3 separate regions of the Homo sapiens genome follow, and regions 2 and 3 are each linked to region 1. The links are contacts of gene promoters, found by promoter capture Hi-C in human tissues and cell types (Jung and others, 2019). All regions are on one chromosome and are shown on one strand. The core of a region is centred on a gene start or on the middle of the fragment in contact, and the rest is flanking DNA. Distances in the headings are between cores, read along the strand shown.

Region 1 (3,708 bases), core at 762-3,261:
CCCACTCTAGGTTCCCACGCCACCCCAATCCCGCTCGAAGCAGCCCTTCAAGGCTATGGAGAAGCAGTATCTCTCCATACCACCCCCCGCCAAAATGTTTGCTGCCCCAACACTTCAACACTATTTTATGTTATTTTTCTTATTAATAAAAGAAGACAGGAATGTCAGGCCTCTGAGCCCAAGCTAAGCCATGATATCCCCTGTGACCTGCACGTATACATCCAGATGGCCTGAAGTAACTGAAGAGTGAAAATGGCCTGTGCCTGCCTTAACTGATGACATTATCTTGTGAAATTCCTTCTCCTGGCTCATCCTGGCTCAAAAGCTCCCCCACTGAGCACCTTGTGTCCCCCCACCGCCAGAGAACAACCCCCTTTGACTGTAATTTTCCACTACCTACCCAAATCCTGTAAAACGGTCCCACCCCATTTCCCTTCGCTGACTCTTTTTTCGGACTCAGCTGGCCTGCACCCAAGTGATTAAAAAGCTTTATTGTTCAAAGCCTGTTTGGTGGTCTCTTCACATGGACGTGCGTGAAAATCCTCATCTTCTCCCCCTGTCCCTCTAAACCCCCACCCAATATCCAATTAATCATCAGGTCTGAGGCTTCCACCTCTTCCACAGCCTCAAATCTTCTGCCTCTCCCCTGGTCTAGGCCACAATCATGCCAGGCCTGTGAACTTCAAGACCCACCTCCCTTGTCTCTTGTTCAATCTGGCCCACCTCCAATCTCTTCTCCACAATGCAGCAGCCTGACGTCCTTCTAAAATATAAATCTGATTATGTCGCCTGCTTAGAATCCTTCAGGAGTCCTCCCCACCCTCTTTTCTGGTCAGTCCAGTGGCTCACACAGATTGTGGCCTGGCTCTCAACCTTCCTGAAAGCCCTTTCCTCTGCCTGGAACATACCTCACGCTCCTGTCTTCCTTCTCTCCGGCGCCAGAGACTAGGTCCTCTCCCTGCTCCCACTGCCCCCATTACACTCGACTGTCCCTGACTGCTTCTTCATCTGTGCTCCCCTCTAGAGCATCGTGAGGACAAGAAGGGTCTCATGTTCACAGTTGTATTCCGTGACTAGTTCAGGACTCGACACAGTTGGCTTTTCATAAATGCTTGTTGCAGAATTTACGAATAAACAAATGAAGAAACAAACGAACGAATCAAAGGTGGGGGAGGGTGTGAAGGTGGAGCTGAACTACAGGGGCAATGCCAGGAGCAGGGATGTGAGGGTCAGATGGAGATGGGGACCAGAGGGAGGGGAAATGAATTTGCAGCAGGGCCAAGCTGGGAGGCTGTGCAAGTACATCCAGGGCCCGCCTTCCTGAAGAGGCCCCAGGCTCAAGCTCAAGTTCGCTGACTCAGACCCCTCCCCCACATTTTTGGGAAGCCAACCCGCCTAGCACGAAAAAGGAAGGGAACCCCTAACGCAACGCCGCAAACCGGAGAAACACCTGGAACCGGAGGGTTTCTCCTCTCGAAACTGAGCTGGCCCATCCCCCGCCAGCCCCTATCTGCCCCCCTCCGCGTCCTAGGCCGGCCCCTGGAGCCGGGGTGCCAGCGCTGCCCGCGCTGGGCCGGGGCTCCAGGCCGCAGGAGGGGGCCGGGCGGGCTTCCGGTCGGCGCGGCCGGGGCGGGGCCGGCGCTGGGGCCGGGCGCTGTCCATGGTGCCCGCGCGCCTCGCCCGGTCCCCGGCCCCAACCCTCCCGCGAGCTTCCTGGCGGGCTCCCTCACCGCTTGTAGTCGGAGGAGAAGATGCCGCCGCTCGCGGGGTCGTGGCCGTACTCGGGCTCCCCGGGGCCAGCGGAGCCGCCCTTGTCTTCGCTGTAGGCGGGGGCGGCCGACATGGGGCGGCCAGGGAGACTTCGCCGAGGAGGAGGTTGCGGGGCCGGAGGCCGGCTGGAGCGGAGGAAGGGAAGGCGGGCCGGTCCGGTCCGGGCTGGCGAAGGCGGCGGCGCGGCAGGGGTTCAGCAGAGGCTGCAGTGTGCAGCGGCGGAGGCTGCGCGCGGATTTCTCAATCAGGGCCGCGCGCTGAGGTCTTAAAGGCACCGGCGCCAGCCGAGCGGAGGGCGTGTCCGCGAGGAGGCGACAGGGGCGGTGCGTCAGGGCCTGGCCCCGCCCATCCCTAGGAAATGCCCTCTTCAGGGCGTCTTCTGCCCTTTAAAGCGACTTGGCTCGTCTCCAGATCTAAAGGTGGGCGAGTCTGCTGGACGGACGCTGGGACCGTCTTGCAGGGGATGTGGAATAGCTGCCCCCACCCCCGACCACCTGGCCTCGGCGGGACGGGCCTCTGGGGCTCCGCTCTCCCCAGACGCACGCGCGGATGCTCACCCACGCCGTGGAGGGAAAGCGGGAACTGGAAAGAAGGCTGTGCCCGCAGGCTGGGGGTTCTAGAGCGGGAAGGGGTCACCGCACCCGAGGACCGGCCTCAGATACCTAAGGACGCTCCCTTTCCCGCCCCACCTTTCCTACAAAATCTGGCTTGGCAGCAGGAAGCCGAGGAGCTTCCTGGAGGTGGCGGAATTTAAGGAATTAAGGTCAGGGAGCTCCGAGGAGCCCTTGGGGGCTTAGAGAGATGGGAAACAGGATACAGAGGACGGTGAACATCTAATTAAGCTTTGGAAAGTAGTTTAATGAATCTTTCTGAAGCCTCCACGTCCACCCAGGAGGGCCAAGGTCATGCTTAATCCGGGGACACGTCCACGTCCATTGACACCTGAAAAGGAAGAGAAGGGTCTGGTGTGACCACCAGGGCTCCTGAGTCATGTGAGCCCTCCAGTTCAGCTCCCGAGCCCGAGTGACCCCTAGGCCCAAGGAAGGAAGGCTTGGATCCGATGGAAAGTAGTGAATTGGGCTGGGGGAAGAGGTAGGATCCAGTTGGGCATCAGTTGAGGTGGCTGGAGTCTTTTAGCTGGGCATGGGGACTGGAGGAGTTCCTAAGGCCTGAGTCTTGGTCTGTAACTAGCATCCCGAAGTCTCCATGGGCAGAATTGGCGGGCCTACCTGGGAAGGAGTGGGGCCCAGAAAGGTGGAGCTTGGCTCAGTAGAAAAGTTCTATTGGGGGTAATTCTACTGGGGTAAGGTTCTATTGGGGTAATGAGAAGGTTCTGTTGGGATAACCTAGACAAGTGGGTGGGTCCGCTTGGTTCCGGTGGCTTTGTGCCTGCCAGAGAAAAGTGGATCTTGAATTTGGAGAAAACTGGCCTGGGTGGGGAGTGGGAAGAGAAGGGCCTGGATTTTGCAGTTGCGCGTTTATAAGGCGCTTTGGCTAGTCTGCTCAGGAGGTGGGATGGGTCCTGTGCAGGTAGCTGGGCCACGCTCACCGACCTGCTGGAGCTCCCGTCTATTTGCCGGGGGTCCAGGCTGGGACCTGGGACGAGCAGACACAGTGCAAAGTGCACACAGTTGCTGCGCATGGAGTGATAGGATGGTGGGTCCGCGTCCGTCGCTTCGCTCACTCTGCGCAGCACGCGCCAGCAGGAGCGCAGCAGCGGGCGCTGCCCCTGTTTGGATACGATGCCTTTCCAGGAGCCCAGAAACTTCCCAGGAGCCCACAGCCTCCTGAGTTCTTGCCTGCGGGGATCGCCAGAGGGGTGCGGATCAGAGCCAGGCTTAGGTCCTATGCCCTGTGATCCCGCACCCCCATTTCCTGAGACCTCAGGGACCCTGAGTGCCCAAACCCCATTTTCAGAGAAACGTACCCCCAGCCTGG
Region 2 (3,708 bases), core at 624-3,123, 110 kb before region 1:
TTAACTGCGGCAATTTCTTAAGACAACCATGATGTTTGCCGCATAGTTCGATTCTTCCTTTCATGAAAGATTTCTCTGTATCATGTGATGCTGTTTGATAACATTTTACCTACCATAGGAGAACTTTCAAAATTGGAGTCAATCCTCTCAAACTCTGCCTCTGCTTTATCAACTAACTTTATGTGGAAATTCTAAATCCTTTGTTGTCTTCAACAAAAATGTTCACAGCATCTGCACCAGGAGTAGATTCTATCAATAAACCATTCATCTGTAAGAAGCAATTCATCCCAAGTTTTATCATGAGATTGCAGCAAATTCAGTCACATCTTCAGGCTCCACTTTTAATCCTACTTCTCTTGCTATTTCCACCACGTGTGTAGTTACTTCCTCCACTGAAGCAGTGAGAACCCCTCAAAGTCATCTATGAAGTTTGGAATCAACTTCTTCCAAATTCCTATTCATGTTAATATTTTTACCTCCTCCCATGCATCACAAATGTTCTTAACAGTATCTAGAATAATGAATCCTTTCCAGAAGGTTTTCCCAGATCCATCAAAGGAATAACTATCAATGGCAGCTCTAGCCTTATGAAATGTATTTCTTAAATAATAAGACTTGAAAGTAAAAATTACTCCTTGATCCATAGGCTGCAAAACTGATCTTGTGTCAGCAGGCATGAAATCATTAATCTCCTTGTACATCTCCATCAAAGCTCGAGTGACCAAGTGCATTGTTAATGAGCAGTAATATTATGAAAGGAATCCCTTCTTGTCTGTACAGTAAGTCTCAACAGTGGGCTTTAAACATTCAGTTAGCCATAGTGCAAACAGATGTGCTGTCATGACTTTATTGTTCCATTTATAGAGCACAGGCAGAGTAGATTTAGCATGTTTCTTAAGGGCCCTAGAATCTTCAGAATGGTCGGTAAGCACTGGCCTCAACTTTAAAGTTACCAGTTTCATTAGCCTGTAACAAGAGAATCAGCCTGTTCTTCAAAGCTTTGAAGCCAGAAACTGACTTTTCCTCTCTAGCTAGGAAAGTCCTAGATGGCATCTTCTTCCAAGAGAAGGCTGTTTTCATCTACATTGAGAATCTGTTGTTGAGTGTAGCCATCTTACCAATGATCTTAGCTAGATCTTCTGGGTAACTTGCTGCAGCTTCTCCATCAGCACTTGCTGCTTCATCTTGCACATTTATGTTACGGAGACAGCTTCTTCCCTTAAACCTCATGAACCAAAAAAAAAGAAAAGAAAAGAAAAGAAAAAGAAAAACCTCATGAACCAACCTCTGCTAGCTTCCAAATTTTCTTGTGCAGCTTCCTCACCTCTCTCAGCCTTCTCAGAAGAGTGTTAGGGCCTTCCTCTGGATTAAGTTTTGGCATAAGGGAATGTTGTGGCTGATCTGATCTTCTATCTCGACTACTCAAACTTTCCCATATCAGCAAAAAGCCTGTCTTGCTTTCTTATCATTCATGTGCTTACCTGAGTAGCCCTTTTAGTTTACTGCAGGAACTTGTGCCTTGCATTCACAGCTTGACTATTTGGAACAAGAGGCCTAACTTTCGGCCTACCACAGCTTTCGACATGTCTTCCTCACTAAGCTTCATCATTTCTAGTTTTTGATGTAAACTGAGACACATGTGACTCTTCCCTTCACTTGAACACTTAGAGGCCATTGTAGGGTTATTAATTTTCCTAATTTCAATTTTGTTGTGTGTCAGGAAAGAGGGAGGCCCAAGAAAGTGGGAGAGAGACAGGAGAACGGCCGACTGGTGGAGCAGTCACAGCATACACAAAGTTTATCAATTAAGTTCACCATCTTACATGGGAATGGTTTGTGGCATGCCAAAACAATTACAATAGCAGCAAAGCAACAGTAAAATAAGTTGGAAATATTGGAAGAATTACCAGAATGTGGCACAGAAACATGAAGTAAGCACATACTTTTTGAAAAATGGCACCAACAGACTTGTTCAACACAGGATTACCACAAACCTTCAATTTGTATAAAACGCTGTATCTGTGAGGTGTGATAAAATAAAGCACAATAATATGAGGTATGCCTGTACTACATTCTGTTCATCCATTCATCACCAGTTAATAGACATTTGGATTGTTTCCACATTTGGGATATTATGAACGACACTGTTACAAATGCCCACCTATAAGTTTTTGTATGAACATTCGTTTTCATTTCTCTTAAGGAGTGAATTTCTGGGTCACATGGTGATTAACCTTGAGTAACCGCCAAATTGTTTTCCAAAACAGCTGCAACATTTCACATTAGCAATGTATAAGAGTTTCACTTTTTCTACATCCTGATCAACAATTGTTACTGCCTTTTTGCTACAGGCATCCTACCAGGTGTAAAGAGGCTCCACTGTTCAAAGATTGGACCATCTAAACAAAAAAGGGTAACTGCAATGGATCAAGACACATCAAACACATTAAATCTATGAGTTCACAATGATACTAAAAAACAACTTACTGGTCAACTTTGGAGAATGCTAGACAATCAGCTCAATATTATGAAAGAAAGTAAAGTAAAATAAGCATTTAATTGTGCTTGATTATTTGAAGAAACGTTCTCTTCTGGTTTACCAAATAGTTCATGAAATTAAGTTTATTTTTTAAAAAGCATATCAACTAATAAACGAAAAACAGAGAATTAGAAAACTGCTATTTGGCAACCTCTAATGTATCTAGGTAGTGACCATCAATGCCTGATGATATCACTAGAAAAGAAGTACTCAGTATCACCTACTAAGTATTCTTGCTAAGAAAGTCAAACCTAAGTCTGCTCAAGTCTCTAGCTATAATCACCAATTAACAGAAACTAGAGGGGGCCGAGGGACATGTGAAGTACTGCCATGGGAATGCAGTCAGTAAAATCTGTACTGCAGATAATTCCATAGAACACATGACCTACTTTTCTCAAAAAATTTATAGCAGAGGGCAGATGAAGAAAGCAATCCTAGCCTAAAAGCAACTTGAGACATAATCACAATCCTAACAATCACAGAATCACAATGCTATTCCTAAAGGATTCAAAACACAATTAGGTCTAATTTTTACTAAAGCTCACGAAAAATAAAGCAGTTAAGACAAGCATGTGGTGAAACTTGAACTGATTTATTCTCTTGATGGCATAATATTCTGACCGAATTCACTTGCAAATAAACTTCTGACATGAGAAGATTTAACTTGCAAATGCAAGTATTAATAAGCTTTCCATCTGAGAAAAAAAAGCCCAATTTGGAAAACATATGTACTAAAAAGTTCATTAAAATGTTCATTACAGGACAGGCGCTGCAGCTCACACATGTAATCCCAGCACTTTGGGAGACTGAGGCAGGCAGATCACTTGAGGCCAGGAGTTGAAACTCCAACATGGCAAAACCCCGTCTCTACTAAAATACAAAAAATTAGCTGGGCATGGTGGCTCACACCTGTAATCCCAGCTACTCGGGAGGCTGAGGCATGAGAATCACTTGAACCCCGGAGGCAGAGGTTACAGTGAGCAGAGATTATGCCACTGCACTCCAACCTGGGCAACAGAGGGAGACTCTGTCTCAAAAAAAAAAAAAAAAAAAAAGTTCATTACAGTATTATTTATAGCAAGAAGATACCCAAGAAGCATGTAGTTTTGTTTACATGGCAAGAAGAGGATATGAACTGTTAAGTAGTTTTGATACATCCTCTTGACATA
Region 3 (3,708 bases), core at 455-2,954, 95 kb before region 1:
AAAACTGAATCCACATTTTAAAAACTGTTCCTCAAAAAAACAAAAACAAACAAAAACACACTCCAGGCCCAAGTGGCTTCAGCAATGAATTATATCAAAATTTAAGGAAGACTATTATAAATTTCACACAAGCTCTTCTCAAGAACAGCGAGGAAAAAAAAAAACTTTTCAAGAAGCTAATGATTTGCTTCAAGAAGCTAACGACTCTGACACCAGGGATATTTTAAGGAAAGAAAATTACAAGCTTATCTCTTATGTGCATGAATACAAAAATCCTGAAGACAACATTTACAAATGAAATCCAAACAATATACTAAATAAAATATATTATGAACAACTTGAGTTAATTCCAGGAATGCGAAGTTGGCTTTACTTTGGTATTCTTTCCTGAATGTTATTCCTACATCTATAGAATAAAGGAGAAAGGTTAAATGAATAGATGCAGAAAAGCTGATATAATTTAATAACATTCATGATTTTATGTTTGTTTTCTTGGGGGTTTTTTTGTTTTGTTTTGTTTTTTTGGAGACAGTGTCTGGCTGTGTCACCCAGGCTGGAGTGCAGCGGCACGATCTTGGCTCACTGCAATCTCCACCTCCTGAGCTCAAGCGATCCTCCCACCTCAGCCCCAAGTAACTGGGACTACAGGTACGTGCCACCACACCCGGCTTTTCATACTTTTGTACAGATGGGGTTTCACTACATTGCCCAGGCTGGTCTCTAACCACCTCAACCTCCCCAAGTGCTGGGATTATAGACATGAGCCACTGCATCCTGCAGATTTTCTTTTTTTAAAAGCCTCTTGGCAAAGTCTGAAAAGAACTTTCTTAATCAGATAAAAAACATTCACAACTTCAGCATATTTAAAGGAGAAATGCTAAGAAGTTCACTCACAACCCCTCCCCTAAGACTGGAAACAAGCTCCCCCCGGGGAGAGAGACACTCACCCTGGATGGGAGCCTGGAACTCTACCACCCCGCCCCGCTCCCCCCTCAATGCCCCCCTGGGACAGCCCGGGAGGCTGCCAGGAAGGGACTGGCCTCCTTGGGAGGCTCCCAGGATCCTCTTCAGCCTCGCTGCTTCTGAGTCCCTGCCGGCAAGCCTCCGCCAAGCAGTGGCCTTGCTGATGCCTGGGGAAGCCCACCGGGAGAGAGACACACACCCTGGGTGGGACCCTGGGGCTCTAAGACTCCCTACCCTGGGACGGCCCCAGGGGCTGCTGGAAAGGGACTGGCCTCCTCGGGAGGCTCCCAGCGTCCTCTTCGTCACTCCTAACCACATAAAAATATGGGTCTTGCTCCCAGGCTGGAGTGCAGCAGCATTATCACAGCTCACTGAAGCCTCGAACTCCTGGGCTCAAGTGACCCTCTCACCTTAACCTCCCAAAGTGCTGGGATTACAGGCACGAGCCACTGCACCCAGCTGTAATATTCTATTTCTTGACCTGGGTAGTGGTTATGTGGGTGTCTGCTGTATAACTGATTAAAATATACAGGTGTTTTATGCAAGTTTCCATATATTCTATGTTTAACAATTTGGAAAAGTCCATCAAACTAGTCCAAGAATTAAACAAAACACAATGATAATCTAAGTAATCACTAAAAATTACTGAAGTCTAAATAAATACTGATTGTGAACACATACATACACACAAAACTGCAAGTAAATTCCTAGATATTATCAGTACCAAATGTGGGGGGGAGTACAATTTGAACACAAAATGAGGGCCTTTTTCAGCTTAGGCACCCAGTTTGAGAGAATGTATTCATTAAGCAATTGTATAATGTTACCTAACATGCACCAGGCCCAATACTGAGGATTAGAAATCCAAGGATTTCAAAAGATCTTTAAAAAAAAGAAAGAAAGAAACGAAACGAAACCCAAGGATATTTAAGACCTAGTCCTTACACATTCTTCAAGAGACTTACAGTATAAACAGAAAACCTAGTTCAACTCTTTAAAATATAAGTGTGTGTGTGTGTGTGTGTGTGTGTGTGTGTATATATATATATGACCTCAGCCAACGCTCTCACAACTGCATCTTTATATACCCACACTATCACAATCACTATCACCATTTAGTAAGTGCAGTTATGTGCATCATTGTAGATAGTATTCAATACAAATCTTATTTAAGCTTCACAAAACCCCTACAAATGGGTACTATTTCTACCTATGTGTCTAAAGAGGAAATTTAAACTCAGAGTGTAAGCCAAGGTCACAGCAAGTAAGTAGCACGACCAGAATTTGTTCTCAGGTCATCTGCATTCAGAGCCTGTACCCTATCTTTGTTTGGGTTTATTATGAAACGGACAATGTTTTTTCAAAACTGTACCCTATCCTCCCATTTTAAGAATGTATATGTTTACACCACCACATGATGGATCCACAAATAAACACGAAGAGCCAAGAAGGACCTTGCTTCATCTCACAGATTGACAGACTACAGAACATTGGAGGCAGGACAGTGTTATAAAGTTTCTGAAGTGACAACCAAGCCAACTTTGAATAAAATAATTTTTTCTAGGAAGACAGTCAATTTAGTTGTCAACTATGTAGCAGAAGAGCATTCATTGCACAACTTCATCTGTCAGTGATTTTAATTATATAATATGCATGGAATGTCAAGAAACAGCAGACAGAATGGCATAAAGGGAAAGAACCCTGGGACACAATTCTAGAAACTTACTCTGGGTTGATGCCAGATCATATATGCTACACGTATTATTTTAACTTCAGAAAATATTTTATAATATAAAGAAAACAAAATCAAGTTGGATTTACAGCTATATCAACTGGAATTTTGAAGTATGACAACATCTAGAGTCTACATGGAATGTGACTGAAAACTCATGAAATCCTAGCAGGATTATAAACTGGTAAATGCACTTTGAAAAAGTACCCAGCAACTTGAAGTGTGAAGACAATATACCAAACTCTGCAATTAACTTCTAGGTACATACTCAAGGAAGCTCTTGTGATGTGGGCACAGGAGACTTAAACAAGGATGTTCACCAAAATACTGTTTATAATAGCAAAAAATATATATTTACCTAAATACAGCAAAAAATATACACCTAAACATTTACCAAGAGGAATATTGTATATATTTATGTAAAATATTACTACAAAGCAATTAAAATGTATTGATTTTACTTACAAATAACTATCAATATGTACACATTATAAATATGACACATGGAGAAAAGCAAATGCCAGGAAGATAATGTCATATTCTTTGCATAAAGATTTAAAACATATGACAATCAGGAGGCGGCATGAGGGGTCTTCTTAGTTGCTTATATCATTCTATTTCTTGATTTGAGCTTGAGAGCATGAGTGTATTTGTTTTGTGACAATTTACCCAGTTATATACTTTAAACTGTGCATTTTCCTCAGTGTATGTTTTATTTACATAAAAATGTAAAACGATGTTTATGGACATACACAGAGAAGTATAAAAACACGGATGGGAAGGAAATATACCAACTTCAGGAGAGTTATCTCTAGGAAAATGAGGAAAAGAGTACACTTAAGTGCAAAACTTTTATTTGATGTTTATATTGTCTGAATAAAGGTCTGAATCAAACATATCAAAATCTTAACATTTGTTAAAGATCGGTGGTAAATACATTATTTTACATTCCTCTTTTTAAATTTTTTTTTTTTTTTTTTTGAGACGGAGTTTCGTTCTTGTCATCGCCCAGA

What was found. The method cuts DNA at HindIII sites, captures the fragments that hold promoters and counts their contacts. A contact is called where the count stands out against the background at its distance.
Region 2: a fragment that was not itself captured here is called in contact with the fragment with the promoter of AP3B2 in region 1 in 5 of the 25 tissues and cell types used here (dorsolateral prefrontal cortex, mesenchymal stem cells, psoas muscle and 2 more).
Region 3: a contact is called between a fragment that was not itself captured here and the fragment with the promoter of AP3B2 in region 1, in 3 of the 25 tissues and cell types used here (hippocampus, mesenchymal stem cells and small bowel).

What each region holds. Positions count from the first base shown.
Region 1 is chr15:82,707,864-82,711,571 of GRCh38, forward strand. It overlaps AP3B2 (adaptor related protein complex 3 subunit beta 2), which reads right to left and starts at 2,012. Exons shown (of 27, transcript NM_001278512.2): 1 at 1,731-2,012. The coding sequence starts at 1,843. It also overlaps the pseudogene LOC338963. RefSeq lists silencers at 1,536-1,795, 2,016-2,065. The HindIII fragment of the contact is 10,798 bases long and covers 1-3,708 here.
Region 2 is chr15:82,593,125-82,596,832 of GRCh38, forward strand. All of the region lies in intron 3 of CPEB1 (cytoplasmic polyadenylation element binding protein 1), which reads right to left. Among named protein-coding and RNA genes, the nearest start is that of CPEB1, 52 kb to the right of the region's middle. The HindIII fragment of the contact is 4,275 bases long and covers 1-3,708 here.
Region 3 is chr15:82,612,881-82,616,588 of GRCh38, forward strand. The region is part of intron 3 of CPEB1 (cytoplasmic polyadenylation element binding protein 1); the gene reads right to left. Among named protein-coding and RNA genes, the nearest start is that of CPEB1, 33 kb to the right of the region's middle. The HindIII fragment of the contact is 3,936 bases long and covers 1-3,672 here.